2 separate regions of the Homo sapiens genome follow, and region 1 is linked to region 2. The links are contacts of gene promoters, found by promoter capture Hi-C in human tissues and cell types (Jung and others, 2019). All regions are on one chromosome and are shown on one strand. The core of a region is centred on a gene start or on the middle of the fragment in contact, and the rest is flanking DNA. Distances in the headings are between cores, read along the strand shown. Region 1 overlaps ANGPTL4 (angiopoietin like 4). Region 2 holds the start of MYO1F (myosin IF).

Evidence for each region. The method cuts DNA at HindIII sites, captures the fragments that hold promoters and counts their contacts. A contact is called where the count stands out against the background at its distance.
Region 1: a fragment that was not itself captured here is called in contact with the fragment with the promoter of MYO1F in region 2 in 1 of the 25 tissues and cell types used here (spleen).

The regions. Positions count from the first base shown.
Region 1 is chr19:8,372,203-8,376,626 of GRCh38, reverse strand. It overlaps ANGPTL4 (angiopoietin like 4), which reads right to left. Exons shown (of 7, transcript NM_139314.3): 7 at 2,257-2,922. The coding sequence ends at 2,741. RAB11B-AS1 (RAB11B antisense RNA 1) reads left to right here. Exons shown (of 3, transcript NR_038237.1): 3 at 2,019-2,251. Among named protein-coding and RNA genes, the nearest start is that of ANGPTL4, 10 kb to the right of the region's middle. The HindIII fragment of the contact is 3,011 bases long and covers 1,361-4,371 here.
Region 2 is chr19:8,574,516-8,579,016 of GRCh38, reverse strand. MYO1F (myosin IF) reads left to right here and starts at 1,575. Exons shown (of 28, transcript NM_012335.4): 1 at 1,575-1,710. The coding sequence starts at 1,708. RefSeq lists silencers at 49-243, 1,464-1,613, 2,151-2,200 and enhancers at 2,321-2,500, 2,671-2,730, 3,071-3,130. The HindIII fragment of the contact is 34,715 bases long and covers 1-4,501 here.

The DNA.
Region 1 (4,424 bases), core at 1,617-4,116, 200 kb after region 2:
ACAGGGCGCTGATTGGTGCGTTTACAATTCCTGAGCTAGACACAAAGGTTCTCCACATCCCCACCAGATTAACTAGATACAGAGTGTCAACACAAAGGTTCTCCAAGGCCCCACCACAGTAGCTAGATACAGAGTGTCGATTGGTGCATTCACAAACCCTGAGCTAGACACAGGGTGCTGATTGGTGTGTTTACAAACCTTGAGCTAGATACAGAGTGCCGATTGGTGTATTTACAATCCCTGAGCTAGACATAAAGGTTCTCCAAGGCCCCACCAGAGTAGCTAGATACAGAGTGTTCATTGGTGCATTCACAAACCCTGAGCTAGACATAGGGTGATGATTGGTGTATTTACAATCCCTGAGCTAGACAAAGGTTCTCCACGTCCCCACCAGACTCAGGAGCCCAGCTAGCTTCACCCAGTGGATCCTGCACCGGGGCTGCAGGTGGAGCTGCCTGCCAGTCCCACGCCGTGCGCCTGCACTCCTCAGCCCTTGGGTGGTGGATGGGACTGGGCACCATGGAGCATGGGGCAGTGCTCGTCAGGGAGGCGCGGGCCGCACAGGAGCCCATGGAGGGGGTGGGAGGCTCAGGCATGGCGGGCTGCAGGTCCCGATCCCTGCCCCGCGGGAAGGCAGCTAAGGCCTGGTGAGAAATCAAGCGCAGCGCCGGTGCGCTGGCACTGCTGGGGGACCCAGTACACCCTCCGCAGCCGCTGTCCGGCCCGGGTGCTAAGCCCCTCATTGCCCGGGGCCAGCAGGGCCGGACGGCTGCTCTGAGTGCAGGGTCCGCCAAGCCCACGCCCACCCGGAACTCCAGCTGGCCCACAAGCACCGCGCGCAGCCCCGATTCCGGCTCGCGCCTCTCCCTCCACACTTCCCTGCAAGCTGAGGGAGCCAGCTCCGGCCTTGGCCAGCCCAGAAAGGGGCTCCCACAGTGCAGCGGTGGGCTGAAGGGCTCCTGAAGTGCCGCCACAGTGGGAGCCCAGGCAGAGGAGTCGCAGAGAGTGAGCGAGGGCTGTGAGGACTGCCAGCACGCTGTCACCTCTCAGCGCCATCTCGGCTCACTGCAACCTCCACCTCCTGGGTTCAAGCAATTCTCCGGCCTCAGCCTCCTGAGTAGCTGGGATTATAGGTGCGCATCACTATGCCCAGCTAATTTTTGTATTTTTAGTAGAAATGAGGTTTCACCACATTGGCCAGGCCAGACCAGCCTGGACAATAGAGTGAGACCCTATATAGGGATCTCACTATATAGAGCAATACAGCGGGATCACCCGACCTCGGGTGATCCGCTCGTTGGCCTCCCAAAGTGCTAGTGTTACAAGTGTGAGCCAATGCGCCCAGCCCTATTCTTTTTTTTTTTTTTTTTTTTTTTGAAATCAAGTCTTGCTCTGTCACCCAGGCTGGAGTGCAGTGGCATGATCTCTGCTCACCGCAACCTCCACCTCCCGAGTTCAAGTGATTCTCCTGCCTCAGCCTCCTGAGTAGCTGGGATTACAGGCACCCGCCACCACACCCGGCTAATTTTTGTATTTTTAGTAGAGACGGGGTTTCACCATGTTGGTCAGGCGGGCCTGGAACTCGTAATGTCAGATGATCCACCTGCCTCGGCCTCCTAAAGTGCTGGGATTACAGGCATGAGCGACCACGCCATCTTTTTTTTTTTTTTTTAACAAAACACAGATGTAGAATTAGAGCCTTCAGGGGTGGGTGCAGTGGCGCTCACACCTTTAATCCCATCACTTTGTGAAGCCAAGGCAGGAGGATCCCTTGAGTCTCGGTGTTTGAGACCAGCCTGGACAATAGAATGAGACCCTGCCTCTACGAAAAAAAAATTATTTTTGTTTTGAGATGGAGTCTTGCTCTGTTGCCCAGGCTGGAGTGCAGTGGCGCAATCTCGGCTTATTTGCAGCCTCTGCCTCCTTGGCTCAAGTGATTCTTCTGCGTCAGCCTCTAGAGTAGCTGGGACTACAGACGTGCACCACCATGCTCGGCTAATTTTTGTATTTTTTTGTAGAGATGGGGGTTCCACCATGTTGGCCCGGCTGGTCTCGAACTGCTGACCTCAAGTGACCTGCCTGTCTCGGCCTCACAAATGGCTGGGATTACAGGCACGAGACACCGTGCCTGGCCCTGGGAACATGTTTACATGGACTTTGTTCACTTTTTAAAACAAACTGAGGGTAACTTACTAGATCTGTGAACTAAAGAAAGAGAAAAAAAAGAAAGAAAACAAACAAGAACAAAGAACAAAGTGTTCTGAGGTTGCTTTTATTCCAAGAACTCTGTGAGCTCCGCCCAGATACCATTGGCGCCTGCTTGTGTCCCCAGGGGACCTACACACAACAGCACCAGCACCATGAGGGCGCTCTCGACCCACACAAGCCCTGGTCCCCGTCAGTCAATGTGACTGAGTCCGCCATTGAGGCCAGTCTGGCTGGCCCCAAGTGGTCCCTCTGAGTCCCCAACTCCCTGGCCAGCAAGGAGTGAAGCTCCATGCCCCTTGGTCCACGCCTCTAGAGTCTGAGCATATCCTGCAGCCTCGATCTCAGGAGGCAACGCATGCAGCCCCCCTGCACTCAGAAAGGGGGCTTCTCCAGTCGTGGTCTTCTTCTCTGTCCACAAGTTTCCAGATGGCCCCTCCTTGGAGCCCCTGCCCAGGCAGGGAACGGCCACATCCTCGGGCAGAGCCAAGAGTCACCGTCTTTCGTGGGCCTGGGACCAGGCCCAGCCAGGACGCTAGGAGGCTGCCTCTGCTGCCATGGGCTGGATCAACATGGTGGTGGCCTGCAGCGGGTAGTAGCGGCCCCGCCAGGTCTTCCAGAAGATTCCCTTCTTAAGCTTCTGCCGCTGCTGTGGGATGGAGCGGAAGTACTGGCCGTTGAGGTTGGAATGGCTGCAGGTGCCAAACCACCAGCCTCCTGCCGGGGTCAGGGGAGAGGGAACATGGTCAGGTCTTTGAGCCACCGATGGGGCTGAAAGGAGATAGGGATAGGGTTGAGGATGAGGCAGGTTGGGGACCAGGCTGGGCTTTGGACTTGACTTTTTTTTTTTTGAGATTGAGTCTTACTCTGTCACCCAGGCTGGAGTGCAGTGGTGCGATCTCAGCTCACTGCAACCTCCGTCTCTCAGGTTTAAGTGATTCTCCTCCCTCAGCCTCCCGAGTAGCTGGGATTACAGGCGCCTGCCACCACACCTGGCTAATTTTTGGTCTTTTTTTTTGAGACTGAGTCTCACTCTATCTCCCAGGCTGGAGTGCAGTGGCACAATCTCGGCTCACTGCACCTCTGCCTCCCAGGTTCAAGGGATTCTCATGCCTCAGCCTCCTGAGTAGCCGGGATTACAGGCACCCGCCACCACGCCTGGCTAGTTTTTGTATTTTTAGTAGTGAGGGGGTTTCACCATGTTGGCCAGGTTGGTCTCAAACTCCTTACCTCATGTGATCCACCCTCCTCAGCCTCCCAAAGTGCTGGGATTACAGGTATGACCCACTGCGCCTGGCCTAATTTTTGTATTTTTAGTAGAGACAGGGTTTCACCATGTTGGCCAGGCTAGTTTTGAACTCCTGACCTCAGGTGATCCACCCACCTCGGCCTCCCAAAGTGCTGGGATTACAGGTGTGAGCCCCCACACCCGGCCTTATTTTTAAGTTTAAAAACAATTTTTTTTGAGACAGGGCCTGGCTCCATTGCCCAGGCTGGAGTGCAGTGGTGTGGTGATGGCTCAATGCAGCGTCAACCTTACGGGCTCAAGTGATTCTTGTACCTGGGCCTCCCAAGTAGCTGGGACCACAGGTGTGAGCCACCATGCCTGCATTTTTTCTTTTTCTTTTGAGGCAGGGGTCTCACTCTGTCACCCAGGCTTGAGTGCAGTGGCGCAGTCTCAGCTCACTGCAGCCTTATCTCCTAGGCTCAAGAGATCCTCCCAACTCAGCCTCCCAAGTAGATGGGAACACAGGCAGGCACCACCATGCCCAGCTAGTTTTTTGTATTTTTAATTGAGACAGGATTTCGCCCTGTTGCTCAGATTGGTCTCCTGGGCTCAAGTGATCCACTCGCTTCAGCCTCCCAAAGTGCTGGGATTGCAAGTGTGAGCCACCGTGCCTAATTTTTTTTTTTTTTTGAGAATTGCTTGAACCCGGGAGGTGGAGGTTGCAGTGAGCCGAGATCGCACCACTGCACTCCAGCTTAGGCAACAGAGTGAGACCCTGTTTCAAAAAAAAAAAAAAAAAAAGAATCCTGTGGAGCACCATTATAAAGATGTTTGTGGCCGGGTATTGTGGCTCACGCCTGTAATCCCAACACTTTGGGAGGCCGAGGTGGGCAGATCACTTGAGGTCAGGAGTTCAAGACCACCCTGGCCAACATGGTGAAACCCCGTCTCTACTAAAAATACAAAACAATTATCTGTGCATGGTGGCGGG
Region 2 (4,501 bases), core at 326-2,825:
ACCCATTCATATTCACTCTTGAGTGCCTGGAGACATTGCTGAGAATTGCATGCCCCAAGCCCGTCAATTCTGCAAACTCGCTCAGGAGATTCCAGCAGAGACGGGCTCCTTCCCAGCTGTGGCCACTAGGGGCGCTGCATATTAACATCTTCAAGGGGGATGCGGGTTTATCGCCCTGGACCAAAGATAGATCTGAACATGGGTCCCCCAGGGTCTCCCAGGGTCGGGTCCTGCCTCGGCCACCTCCTTGCTGGGTGGTGTGGGGAAGTAACAACCTATTAGAACTGCCATTTCCTCACATGTCAAGAGGAGCCTCAGGTGGTTGGCTGGTGTCCCAAAGACCAGCTCATAGGCTGACACGTACCTGGGCCAGGCTCTGCTGGGGGGACCCACGTTCCCATTTTACAATGAGAAAAGGGAGTAACTAAGTCATCCAGGAAGTAGCCAAACTGGAGGCTGTTAAATCTAGATGTGACATCCAAAGTCAGGGACCTTTCAGATGCACCTGCTTCCCAGTACCCTCCACTTCTGCACACAAACACGTGTGACTTCTGAGGGTCATCTAAAGAGGGAGGTTGGGCCAGGCGTGGTGGCTTATGCCTGTAATCCCAGCACTTTGGGAGGCCGAGTTGGGAGGATCACCTGAGGTCAGGAGTTCAAGGCCGGCCTGGCCAACATGGCGAAATTCCGTCTCTACTAAAAATACAAATATTAGCCAGGTGTGGCGGTGGGCACCTGTAATCCCAGCTACTCAGGAGGCTGAGGCAGGAGAATCGCTTGAACCCAGGAGGCGGAGATTAAAGTAAGCTGAGATTGCACCACTGCATTCTAGCCTGGGTGACAGAGCTAGACTCCGTCTCAAAATAATAACAATAATAATAATGAAGGAGGTTGCCCAGGGATGCCCAGAGCAGACACAGCTGAAGAAGGCACCCTTCCCTGTTGTTGTTGTTTTTTTGGTTTTTTTGTTTTTTCTGGTTTGTTTTTAGAGACAGGGTCTCACTCTTTCGCCCAGGCTGGAGTGCAGTGGCGCAATCAGGGCTCACTGAGGCCTCCACCTCCCAGGTTCAAGCAATCCTCCCACCTCAGCCCTCTGAGTAGCTGGGACTGCAGGCTCATGCCACCATGCCCAGCTAATTTTTTTTCTTTTCATTTTTTGTAGAGATGGGGTCATGCTATATAGCCCAGGCTGGTCTCAAACTCCTGGACTCAAGCGATCCTCCAACCTTGGCCCCCCAAAGTATTGGGATTACAGGCGTGAGCCACCTCCCCTGGGCCCCTTCCTTGGTTTTAAAAAGAGACCCGGGAAGCCCAAATGCTTCCTGAATCGCCCTGAAAAGAGGTGGTTCGTCCTGCAGCCAGCTGACCCAAATGTTCCTGCAGCAGCCCTGTCCCCAAGGAGTTGGGGAAGAGGCCTCTGAGGTCCAGTAGTGGCTGCCATCAAGTTCTGACCCCTCCCTTCAGGCTCAGAGCCCCAAACAGCCAGCTCCCCGCCCCCCTCCACACCCAGCTTCCCTCCCCCATGGCCTCGGCCCCTCCCGCCAAAGGAAGTGAGAAGGGGCTGTTGTAAGAGGAACTAAAGCCGGGAGTCCGGTGAACGGGCAGAAGCAGGGCCATGCCCAAGCCACCCCCAAGATCCCCCTGAACCTGCACCTCCATCACGACCCATTCAGGAGCCTCCAGGAGCCCAGACACCAGCCCCCCACCATGGTAAGTCCTTCAAGGGTGGGATCTGGAAGAAGAAAGAGGAGGGACACCAGCCAGGTGGAGGTGTCCTAAAAATGACCATCAGAAATTGGGGTGAGGGGAGGGGCATGGTGGACTTCTGTGGGGGTGGGGTGTCTCTCAGTGCAGCTCAGGTGCCTCCAGCATCCCTTACCAGGGAGCAAGCTCCCATCTGTAGGTGGTGGGGATGCCAGGGTGGTATCCCTGGATCCAAGGATAGGGCAGGACCTGGAAGACAGAAGGTGGCCCAGGGAGAATCACAGAGTCTGCAGGGACAAGGACATAGCCTCCTTTGCTTGCAAATTAAGGGAGCCCTTTCCCAGTCCAGCCCAGTCTCTCGTCTCCCTGTGTAGCCTTGGGCTAGTCACTTCCCCTCTCTTGGCCCCGGTTCCCACAGATGTCATATTTGGAAATCCGTCTAGATGCGGAAGTTGCTCTTCAGGGGTCTTTCAGTTGCAACATTCTCAAGGTCTGTGGGTTCTGCCACAGAGTCCTCGGCTGAGATGGGAAGCTATGTCTAACAAGCGATGGGGTGGATTGACGCCCTCCCTGTGCCGGTGACGGGCGGTATGGCTGCAGCAGAGGCAGGAGAGGCTGAATACGTCCATGCCACCCTTTGGTGGGCATCCCTTATCCCAAGAGGAGGATGGCAGCCAGAGGTGTTGCTGCCTGTCAAGTCTGAGGTCTGTCGATGATAGCAACGGGGAGACTGTCGTGATCATGGCGCTATTCCTAGCAGTATCGTACCACCATAAGACGCAAAGTAAGAGGTGGCCAGGGCTGACCCCACCCCACAGCTCTCTGCTGTGTAGACCACTTCAGCTTTCATTTCTCGTCATTCAGTCAGTGAGGATGAGAGCATGTGGCTGTGACAGCGGCCACTGCAGGATTCTTGGCAGGTACAGCTTACTAGGGTGGAGTCAGGGACATAGGGCAAGAGGCAGAGGTGGTGTTAGTCTGAGAGACAACACCTTCTTTCAGGAAGCCAGTGAGGGCCAGGGACAGTGGCTCATGCCTGTAATCCCAGCATTTTAGGAGGCTGAGACAGGTAGATCACTTGAGGTCAGGTGTTCGAGACCAGCCTGGCCAACGTGGTGAAACCTCGTCTCTACTAAAAAATACAAAAAATTAACTGGGCGTGGTGGCACACGCCTGTAATCCCAGCTACATATGAGGCTGAGGCAAGAGAATAACTTGAACCCAGGAGGCGGAGGGTGCAGTGAGCTGAGATCCTGCCGCTGCACTCCAGCCTGGGTGACAGAGCACACTCCGTCTCAAAAAAGGAAAGCTGATGAGAAATTGGGCATCCCGGAATTCACACCCAAACCATCAGCTGGAGCTCTGAGACTGTTGGGGTGGGAATTCTTCCAAGATGAGAAGCAAGCCAGGGAGGCTCAGGTCCTGGGATGGGCAGGGCTTTGATCAAAAGAACACAGGAAGTGATTTGCTACTTGAAAGAAAGGCAACCCCTCCCCAAGGAAGCCCTCTGAAAATGCTTAGTCAACAGTCGGCTTGGCAGACAAGGTCTGGGAGGGGCCACCCGTATCGCAGAGGATGATAGAAGAGAAAAAAATGACACCCACCTCTGTCTGGGGATGCTGAAATCTTCCTGGAGGAGTGGTGAATGCCAGGAAGATCGCTGAAGGATTCAATGAAACAGTATTTCTGAAGTCCTTTACAACAGGGTCCCCAACCCCCGGGGTCATGGACTGCTATCGGGCCATGGTCTGTCTGTTAGAAACCATGAGCCCTATCGGGTCACAGAGCAGGAGATGAGTGGCAGGCAAGCAAGCCCGAGCTCCACCTCCTCTCAGATTCTCGGGGGCGCCATTAGATTATCACAGGATCGCAAACCCTGTTGTGAACTGCACACACGAGGGATCCAGGTTGCATGCTGCTTATGACAATCTAATGCCCGGCCGGGTGCGGTGGCTCACACCTGTAATCCTAGCACTTTGGGAGGCCGAGGCGGGCAGATCACGAAGTCAAGAGATAGAAACGATCCTGGCCAACGTGGTGAGACCCCGTCTCTCCTAAAAATACAAAAATGAGCTGGGTGTGGTGGCACATGCCTGTCATCCTAGCTACTCGGGAGGCTGAGGCAGGAGAATCGCTTGAACCCGGGAGGCGGAGGTTGCAGTGAGCCAAGATCACACCATTGCACTACAGCCTCGGCGACAGAGCCAGACTCCGTCTCAAAAAAAAAAAAAAAAGAAAAAGAAAATCTAATGCCGTTGGCAGGGTGCAGTGGCTCATGCCTGTAATCTCAACACTTTTGGAGGCCGAGGTGGGCGGATCACCTGAGGTCAAGAGTTCAAGACCAGCCTGGCCAACATGGCAAAACCCTGTCTCTACTAAAAATACAAAAATTAGCCAGTCGTGGTGGTGCGCGCCTGTAACCCCAGCTACCCGGGAACCTGAGATAGGAGAATCACTTGAACCCAGGAGGCAGAGGTCGCAATGAGACGAGATCACGCCACTGCACTCCAGCCTGGGCCACAGAGAGAGGCTCCATCTCAAAAAAAAAAGAAAGAGAGAGAGAAAGAAAGAAAGAAAAAGAAAGAAAGAAAGAGAAAGAAAAAGAAAGAAAGAGAGAAAGAGAAAGGAAGAAAGAAAGAAAGAGAGAAAGAAGAAAGAGAAAGAAAGGAAAGAAAGAAAGAAAGAAAGAAAGAAAGAAAGAAAGAAAGAAAGAAAGAGAGAGAGAGAGAGAGAGAAAGAAAGAAAGAAAGAAAGAAAGAAAGAAAGAAAGAAAGAAAGAAAGGGAAAAAAGAAGAAA